3 separate regions of the Homo sapiens genome follow, and regions 1 and 3 are each linked to region 2. The links are contacts of gene promoters, found by promoter capture Hi-C in blood cells and fetal thymus (Javierre and others, 2016). All regions are on one chromosome and are shown on one strand. Each heading gives the region's core, a stretch centred on a gene start or on the middle of the fragment in contact. The rest is flanking DNA. Distances are from core to core; before and after follow the strand shown. Region 1 overlaps AQR (aquarius intron-binding spliceosomal factor). Region 2 holds the start of SLC12A6 (solute carrier family 12 member 6). Region 3 overlaps AQR (aquarius intron-binding spliceosomal factor).

Region 1 (2,700 bases), core at 130-2,629, 610 kb before region 2:
GTTTAAATCAGAGAAATTAAAACACTTCAGATCCTTAATAAGAAAACAAAGCCTAAGCTAAATACAGGCATAATCCACAGAGGAAAAACTAAAGAAATGAAAGCCATTATTTTATTAGCTAAAGGGTTCTGCAGCTCTCTCATAGTCCTGTCAGAAACCTGTATTTGACTTGCCATTAATTATAAGTAAGCACGTGATGCTTCTTTTATACATATACAAATAACCCTTTTGTAATTATTTGGTTTTTTTAATAGACTGCTAAAAAGCCTACTAGGGCTTCTTTAAAGCTTAAGTGAGCAAGCCAATACAAAATGAATTTTATTCTGTTTCTTTTCAGATTTTTAAGAAGAAGCCAGACCACTTCCCATTCTTTTTTAAACACATCTTGAAGGCGGCATTAGCTGAAACTGATGGTGAATTTTCACTTCATGAACAGACAGTCTTACTACTTTTTCTTGATCATTGCTTCAATAGTTTGGTACTTTTACTTTATATTTTGGGGTAATTTTCAAGTTTTCTTGTTCTTTTAGGTTGAGTTTAGATGAAATTACCTCTGTAGCCAACTCCATTCATCCATAATAGCAGGCAATAAGGATAATGCTAAAAGCTTGATTTCAGCCACTTATCAGTAAAACCATTTTATAAGTCTTTAAGATATGTTTTTATAAGATATGTTCACTTTTTAATAGATTTGAAATTGATACTTAATTTTTTCTATCTAGACTCTTAAGAAAAATGATTATAAGAACTGAAACTCTAAAGGGAGAGCACAAAAATGAGAAGCAGCAAGGAGACTGGTTATATGGAATTGGAGTAATGAGATCTGTGCCACAAACTGCATATACATACAGGAATGTAGTTTCATTGCTTTTCATCATGCCTTATGCATAGGCTGGTTAGTCAACAGGAGAGTTGTATTTTGAGTTGACTGATAAAGGCCAAGTGTAAATGATCTTTGAAAATGTCTTGTGTGTGATACATTTTCATCCTTCATAAGATTATCTTCTAAAAAATTAAATATTTTCAGTAATATTTTATTTGAGCTTTCCTGTGTGGTTAGCTGATAAATACACATATTTATTTAGTGCCTCTGAATTGATAATTCACTTACACCCATGCAGGAGGAATGCATGGAGTTCTTTCTTATTCTGAAGACTGAGTGTTAATAGATGGATGATTATTACCTGTTTCCATGTACTATCTCACATGGATCTTTTAAAGGCATAAAAAAAGATTTATGATGCCTGCACTGGATACCACTGTTATCTCTTTAACATTTATTTTTATTTATTTATTTATTTATTTATTTATTTATTTATTTTGAACATAAACTCAAGATTTTATTGTCTTCATAATAAAAGATGACACTTAGAACTGAATCACTTGGCCCTTTCTCTTCTTATCTCCTCCCAGTTCAAAATGCTTGCATCTTTTAATAGCCAGCATTCTCTTAGATCTGCAGTTGGGCTCAATGCACTCAAGCCTTAGCACAATCTTTGTAGTTTTAGCCTTTTTCCAGAAAATTGGCTTAGTTTGCCCACCATAGCCACTCTGCTTCCTGTCATAACGCCGCTTTCCCTGGGCATACAGAGAATCCTTGCCCTTCTTGTACTGTGTCACTTTATGGGGTTGGTGCTTGCCACACTTCTTACAGAAAGTCCGGCGGGTTTTAGGGACGTTAACCATGCTTGCGTGAGCGTTATCGGCACAGAAAGCCTCTTTAACATTTATTAAACTAAACAGAACAAATAGAAATATAAATAGATGTGATTTTTTTATCAGAAACTAAACAGAAACAAGATTTTATTAGTATTAGTAATTTGGTGATAGTTTTAGCCAACTTACCAAACTAGTTTATTATTGAAATGCTTTATCTTTTAAAATATGCAGTCAGTTCTTATTTGAGGTAGTTATGTTCATTTTATAAAGTAGCTATGAACATTGAATGAGCTAATGCTGAACCATTACTCCTTGGGGAAATACAGGGTTAGGTTCCTGCAAGCCTTGGTCATGACATTTTACAAACTATCAATACATAGCCTTATTTTATGTGTGTTTCTATTTAAAGACAGCTTATTTATTGTATATTATTGATTCATTAACCATGAACTCACTGCCAACAGCACTGTAATTATGCCTGAACGAAGCTTATCTAACATACGTATTTACTCTGTAAGACATATCACAGCCTTCTTGCACCCATGAACATCAGACAGCACTTCAGCCTTGGGCTTGTTGCCATTTTAAACAGCGAAATCATCAAAAAGCACAAGCGTGCCAAAAAAAATAGTACTCAATAGACCACAAAAAGGATACTTGTTTCTTACAGTATGAGAGCTGAGAATGAAGCAGAGCATCAGCTCAGTCTCACCTGAGAATGTGCACGTCGGACAACTCAGATTTTTGTTTGGGCCATCTGGATGACTGTGAAAGCACATGGAGTGTTGATTTTGGGGTTACAAATACATTTTTATTAGTATATGAATTTGCAAGTACAAAATCTGTAGATAATAAGGATGGAGTCTTTTTTAAAGCATTGAACTTCTTAATATCAAAATATTAACTTGAAAATATTTGTGGCATGTTTTCCCTCCAGGACTTAAAAAGGCAGTATACTTCTTATGTAAAGACTTAGGTAGAAATGCTGGTATGTTTATAAACTTATTTTCTTCATGCCCTAAACAGGAAGTAGACTTGATA
Region 2 (2,700 bases), core at 201-2,700:
CCTTTTTGATCCTTTAATCCTTGAAAGGATTTGGACTTTGTGTGTCATTTGATAAAAGAGAACTTCCGGGAATACAGTTCCCATTGCTAGGAGTGCTGCTTAAACATAACCACTTGTGAGGAGCCAAGACCCCAGGCAAAACCGGGGGCCAGTTTCTGGGCCCAGGTGATTGTTAAATTTAGAGGTCTTGATCACAGCTATAGGAAATAGCTTTTCAAACAAAACATTGGTGAGTCAGAATTTATCGAACACCACCATTTATACATTAAATAAACACTAAGAAAAAATATTCTAGCGACAAATGTAGTGGTGAAAACATGGAATGGATTTGAGAAAATACATCAACGTCTTCTCCAGGTATAAAAAAACGTATTATTTAGTGGAACTTTCAGTCTGACTAGAAAGTGGACATAGCATTTATTAAAAGGACAAGAACAACAACAAAAAATTAAAGTAGGACAAATGTGTTTAAGGTACTTTATAGTTTTATTTTTATTTATTTATTTCTTTGAGACGGAGTTTTGCTCTTGTCCCCCCAGGCTGGAATGCAATGGTGCGTTCTCGGCTCACTGCAACCTCCGCCTCCCAAGCTCAAGCGATTCTCCTGCCTCAGTCTAAGGAATAGCTGGGATTACAGGCACACGCCACCACGCCCGGCTAATTTTTGAATTTTTGGTAGAGACGGGGTTTCGCTATGCTGGCCAGGCTGGTCTGGAACTCCTGAGCTCAGGTGATCGATCACGCCCGCCTCAGCCTCCCAAAGTGCTAGGATTACAGTCGTGAACCACCGCGCCAGGCCTACTTTATAGTTTTAATTTTTTTTTTTTACATAAAAGTGGTTTATTTGTATGTAGACCTCTACATAAAAATTACAATGAGGGTTATTCCCAGGTATAGGAGCGGTGTTTCTGGTTAAAGAAATCATGAATGATGTTTTCAGAGACACTCATGAAAGAGAAATGGCTCCCCGGGTTCTGAGGGTGAGGAGCAGCGCCCGCCCTCTAGGATGCTTCCAGAGTGAGTGTGCAGCACAGCCGGACCGAGGAAAAGGATTATTCCCCTCTTCACGCGGGTCGGGCCGTGCCCTGGACTACAGCTCCCGTCGTGCCCCTGGCCACTCGTATTCGGCCCCGCCCCGCCTGCCGTGTCCCGCGGCGAGCGCAGGCGCGCTGCACTCGGTCACCGCGGGCTGCGGCGGCTGGGCGGGGCTTTCGGGCGCCCGCGGGACGGTTCCGCCCTCTCACTGCACCCCCGGGCTTCTCTTCGCAAGGTTCACCTCGAATGAGGAACAAGCGGGGAGGGAAGGGAAGGGCTGCGGCGGCGCGGGCGCACCCCGTCGGGCCCGGGGCTGGGGGAGGCCAGGTCACGTAACTGCTGCTCTGGCGTCGGGCCGGGGAGGGGGCGCCAGCCCCGGCAGCGCGAACCCTGCGCGCGCCGCGGCTCTGAAACAGTTACCGGCTAGTAAACAACAGCTGCGCGCGCACCCGCATCAGCTGGCGCCGGGATACTGCACCTGCGACCTCCTTCTCCCTCACCCTGCTGCCCAGTCAGGCCAGCCTGCGTGGCCGTCTCCTCCTCTACTGGGACCCTGAGGAAGAACGACGAGGGGGTGACCTGCGCCGGGGCGGGGGTAGGGGAGAACGCGCCTCCGGCAAAGGGGGTGGCTCGTCCTGTCACACGCAGGAGAAACCTAGCGAGCGGACCGTGGCTCAGTGGACTAGCTACGACTTGCCACGACTCTGAGCTGCAGTCCGAGGTGTCTTGATCCGCTAACCTCCTCCCAGACCCCGAGGACCTTTCTGCTAGGAGAAGAGCGGGCGCGCCACCCCCACCGACCTCTCGGAGACAGGAATCCGCTCTGCCCCTGCATCCTCCTCTGCTCACCCTTCTCTCAGTAGTGTGGGTTATTTTTCCCGTTATGCATGTGCACCTTTCCCACCAGACCCAAGTGGATTGTCGACATCAAAAACACCGGGTGGCTTTGCATACACCTCCCCCCAGCCAGACCTGTGGGGTATTCACCTGATACACAACAGGTGGCCGGGTGTACACCTTTTAGCAATCTGATCCACGCTATAGTCGCCTGATAAAGGTTTGCCTGCACGCACTTCGCCCAACTAGAACCGTGGGACACTCACCAGATAAAGGACTACCTCGACAGGAAACTGGGGGCTGAGGGGAGGGAGGCTTCATCTGCTGCCCTGAGACCATGGCACTGAGCCTTCAGCCCCGGACCAGAGGGGTTAGCTAGGTAGCTCTTCATTCTGAAGGAAAGAAGTCACACAAGATTGGCATTGTTTTGTCTTTTTGTTTTTTGTTTTTTTCTCTCTTAAAAAATATATTCACCTATTGGTGATGCACTTTCTAGGACAGTCGGCTTGAATTCTGAGTAGAAGTATTCTTAGTTGGGGCTTTTTGTGTGGTGTGAATCAAGGTTATTGAAATGTGTTATTTTTCAAGTTATCTTTTGTATTGCAGTCAAAAGTAGCTAGCGTAAGAGGAAGATTTTGCGAGGTTCCCCCCACTTTTTTTGTTCTTAAAAAGAACAAAATGCATCCTCCAGAAACCACCACCAAGATGGCTTCAGTTCGGTTCATGGTGACACCGACAAAGATCGATGACATTCCAGGTTTGTCAGACACCAGTCCGGACCTCAGCTCTCGATCTAGTTCCCGAGTAAGATTTAGCTCCCGGGAAAGC
Region 3 (2,700 bases), core at 143-2,642, 580 kb before region 2:
GCCCGGCTAATTTTTTGTATTTTTAGTAGAGACGGAATTTCACCATGTTAGCCAGCATAGTCTCGATCTCCTGACCCCGGGATCTGCCTGCCTCGGCCTCCCAAAGTGCTGAGATTACAGGCCTGAGCCACCTTGCCCTGCCGGTATTAATATTTAAAAGTGTTCTTGGGGACTGCCCAGAAGGATCTTGGGTACAATGAGAGGTTTGCAGAAAATATTTTGAGAACCCTGCACTAAAGCCTTAATTTTCATTGCTGGTTTTTGATATTTGCTGCCCATGTCATAGTATTATATTTGCTTTTTTAAGCTATTTGTAAAAATACATGTTTCAAAAGTGAAGTGAAGTAAGTTACTATGAATAAAATATTGTTCTCTATTCTGCAGTTCAAACACACTCCACCAGGTGGCATCATACCTCTGCTTGTTGCCAACTCTTCCTAAAAATGAAGACACAACTTTTGATAAAGAATTTCTTCTAGAATTGCTGGTAAATATTAATGTTCTCTGAATTTTGCATGTGGTTTTCCTTGCCTTTTAAAGTCATTCTTAAAGATGTAGGTTCATATAGATTTTTTTGTGGGCCAAAGATTAGGCAGATAATTCCCATTTTGTTTTTGGAATTGTATTATCATTTGATTTTTTGTTTTCTCATCTTTCGAATTTCTTTACTCAAGTATTTTATCTCTTCGAACTACTTTCTGGATGAATCATTCTATTAGCAACTATTTATATGCAAATCACTTTCATTGTCTCTTTCAGTTCCTAAAAATTCCTGTGCTATTTTCTGACAATGTAAAACCTCTCATGAGTAAGGTTTTTGGAATTAATAATAACTCTTTGCAATAGAAAGAAATGAGGATTTTTTTCAGGAATTCTTCTTCTTTTTTTGTTTTTTTGTTTGTTTGTTTGTTTTGTTTTTTTGATACCGAGTCTCTCTCTGTCGCCCAGGCTGGAGTGCAGTGGCGTGATCTCAGCTCACTGCAACCTCTGCCTCCCAGGTTCAAGTGATTCTCGTGCCTCATCTTCCCGAGTAGCTGGTATTACAGATGTGTGCCACCACTCCCAGCTAATTTTTGTATTTTGAGTAGAAGATAGAGTTTCGCCACGTTGGCCAGGCTGGTCTTGAACTCCTGGCCTCAAGTGATTGACCCACCTCAGCCTCCCAAAGTGTTGGGTTACAGGCATGAATCACCGTGCCCAACCTGTTTTCAGGAATTCTTCTAATGGAAAATAAGTTTGAGGATAACGTTGATCCTGTGCCTATTAAGGTCTTGTGGCTAGAATTTTATTCCTAAAATTTAAATAGTTCCAACAAAAGAAAATAATTTTTAAAATGTATAGTGCTACAACATTATGTTTTGTTTCCTCCCTTCCCTAAAGGATTTCCCCAGGCTTTGGATTCTTCTACTATTCAATTTATGATCAAAAAGTTAAAACATACATATTGTTTAGATATCATGATTTTTTCTATAATTATACTATCTTCACTGAAGAGAATGTGATACATTTTAAGAATATGTCATTTTAGCATTATTAGATAAACACTTATTTTTCTTTTTCTTTCTTTTTTTTTTTTTTTTGAGATGGAGTCTCACTCTGTCCCCCAGGCTGGAGTGCAATGGTGCAATCTCGGTTCACTGCAACTTCCGCCTCCCGGGTTCAAGCAATTCTCTTGCCTCAGCCTCCTGAGTAGCTGGGATTACAGGTGTGCACCACCACGCCCAGCTAATTTTTGTATTTTTAGTAGAGATGGGGTTTCACCATGTTGGTCAGGCTAGTCTTGAACTCCTCACCTCAGGTGATCCACCTGCTTCAGCCTCCCAAAGTGCTGGGATTAAAGGCATGAGCCACTGCACCCGGTGTAACACTTATTTTCATATTTGAGATAGATTATTAATATTAAGGGTACACAGAGGTCATCATGGAAAGGAACATAGAGTGAGAAGACTAGGGTGATAGATTAATAAACTTTCCCAGATGGTATAGCTAGTTAGTATAAGAATGAAAACTATAGTCCAAAACCTAGAGCTCCTATTTTTTCCTACATTGATTAATGCTAAGTGTCATGGTTTTTAAACCCTTGGCATGTGCCAGGGACTTTGACACTATTTCATATTTCATTGGAAACTTGAGATGTGTGGCACTTTATCTGTTTTAGTGAAAAGGAAACTAAGGTTAGGAAGGTTAAAGTAACGTGCCCAGCTTTTACAGTACTCATAAGTAGAGGAGCTGGGATTTGAACTCAGGTCTGTCTGATTCCAAAGACCATTACCATTGGTTTGTTTCTCATCTTTGATCTATGGAGAAAATAGGAAAAGAAAAAAAAATCGCTTGTTGAACTGCTACAATAACTGATAGGCATGAAACTTCTTCCATAAATTATTTTGATTGAAAAAAGATGCTTCTAACCTTCTGCATGAACTTGTTTCCTTTATTTTAGGTATCTCGTCATGAACGTCGAATTTCTCAGATTCAGCAGTTGAACCAGATGCCTTTGTATCCAACTGAGAAAATTATATGGGATGAAAATATTGTCCCAACTGAGTACTATTCTGGAGAAGGTATGGTAAAGAAGTATGGATTCAGCTGTACAATGAAACAATTTCAGATTTATCATATATAATTGGCAATTATAGGCAGTGTACTTGAGTCTACTCTGTACATTAGGATAATTTCCTGGTGCCCAGAAGTTAACTTTAG

The links. Contacts are between HindIII fragments. The CHiCAGO score rates a contact against its expected background, and 5 or more counts as called.
Region 1: a fragment that was not itself captured here is called in contact with the fragment with the promoter of SLC12A6 in region 2 in 5 of 17 cell types (total CD4 T cells, total CD8 T cells, naive CD8 T cells and 2 more); the score reaches 7.7 in total CD4 T cells.
Region 3: a fragment that was not itself captured here is called in contact with the fragment with the promoter of SLC12A6 in region 2 in 1 of 17 cell types (naive CD8 T cells); the score reaches 5.9 in naive CD8 T cells.

The regions. Positions count from the first base shown.
Region 1 is chr15:34,942,066-34,944,765 of GRCh38, reverse strand. It overlaps AQR (aquarius intron-binding spliceosomal factor), which reads left to right. Exons shown (of 35, transcript NM_014691.3): 6 at 338-478; 7 at 2,686-2,700. It also overlaps the pseudogene RPL36AP8. Among named protein-coding and RNA genes, the nearest start is that of AQR, 26 kb to the left of the region's middle. The HindIII fragment of the contact is 1,540 bases long and covers 610-2,149 here.
Region 2 is chr15:34,336,531-34,339,230 of GRCh38, reverse strand. SLC12A6 (solute carrier family 12 member 6) reads left to right here and starts at 1,450. Exons shown (of 26, transcript NM_001365088.1): 1 at 1,450-1,899; 2 at 2,479-2,700. The coding sequence starts at 2,551. RefSeq lists a silencer at 1,036-1,595. The HindIII fragment of the contact is 4,998 bases long and covers 1-2,700 here.
Region 3 is chr15:34,918,119-34,920,818 of GRCh38, reverse strand. It overlaps AQR (aquarius intron-binding spliceosomal factor), which reads left to right. Exons shown (of 35, transcript NM_014691.3): 14 at 385-487; 15 at 2,441-2,561. Among named protein-coding and RNA genes, the nearest start is that of AQR, 50 kb to the left of the region's middle. The HindIII fragment of the contact is 9,536 bases long and covers 1-2,700 here.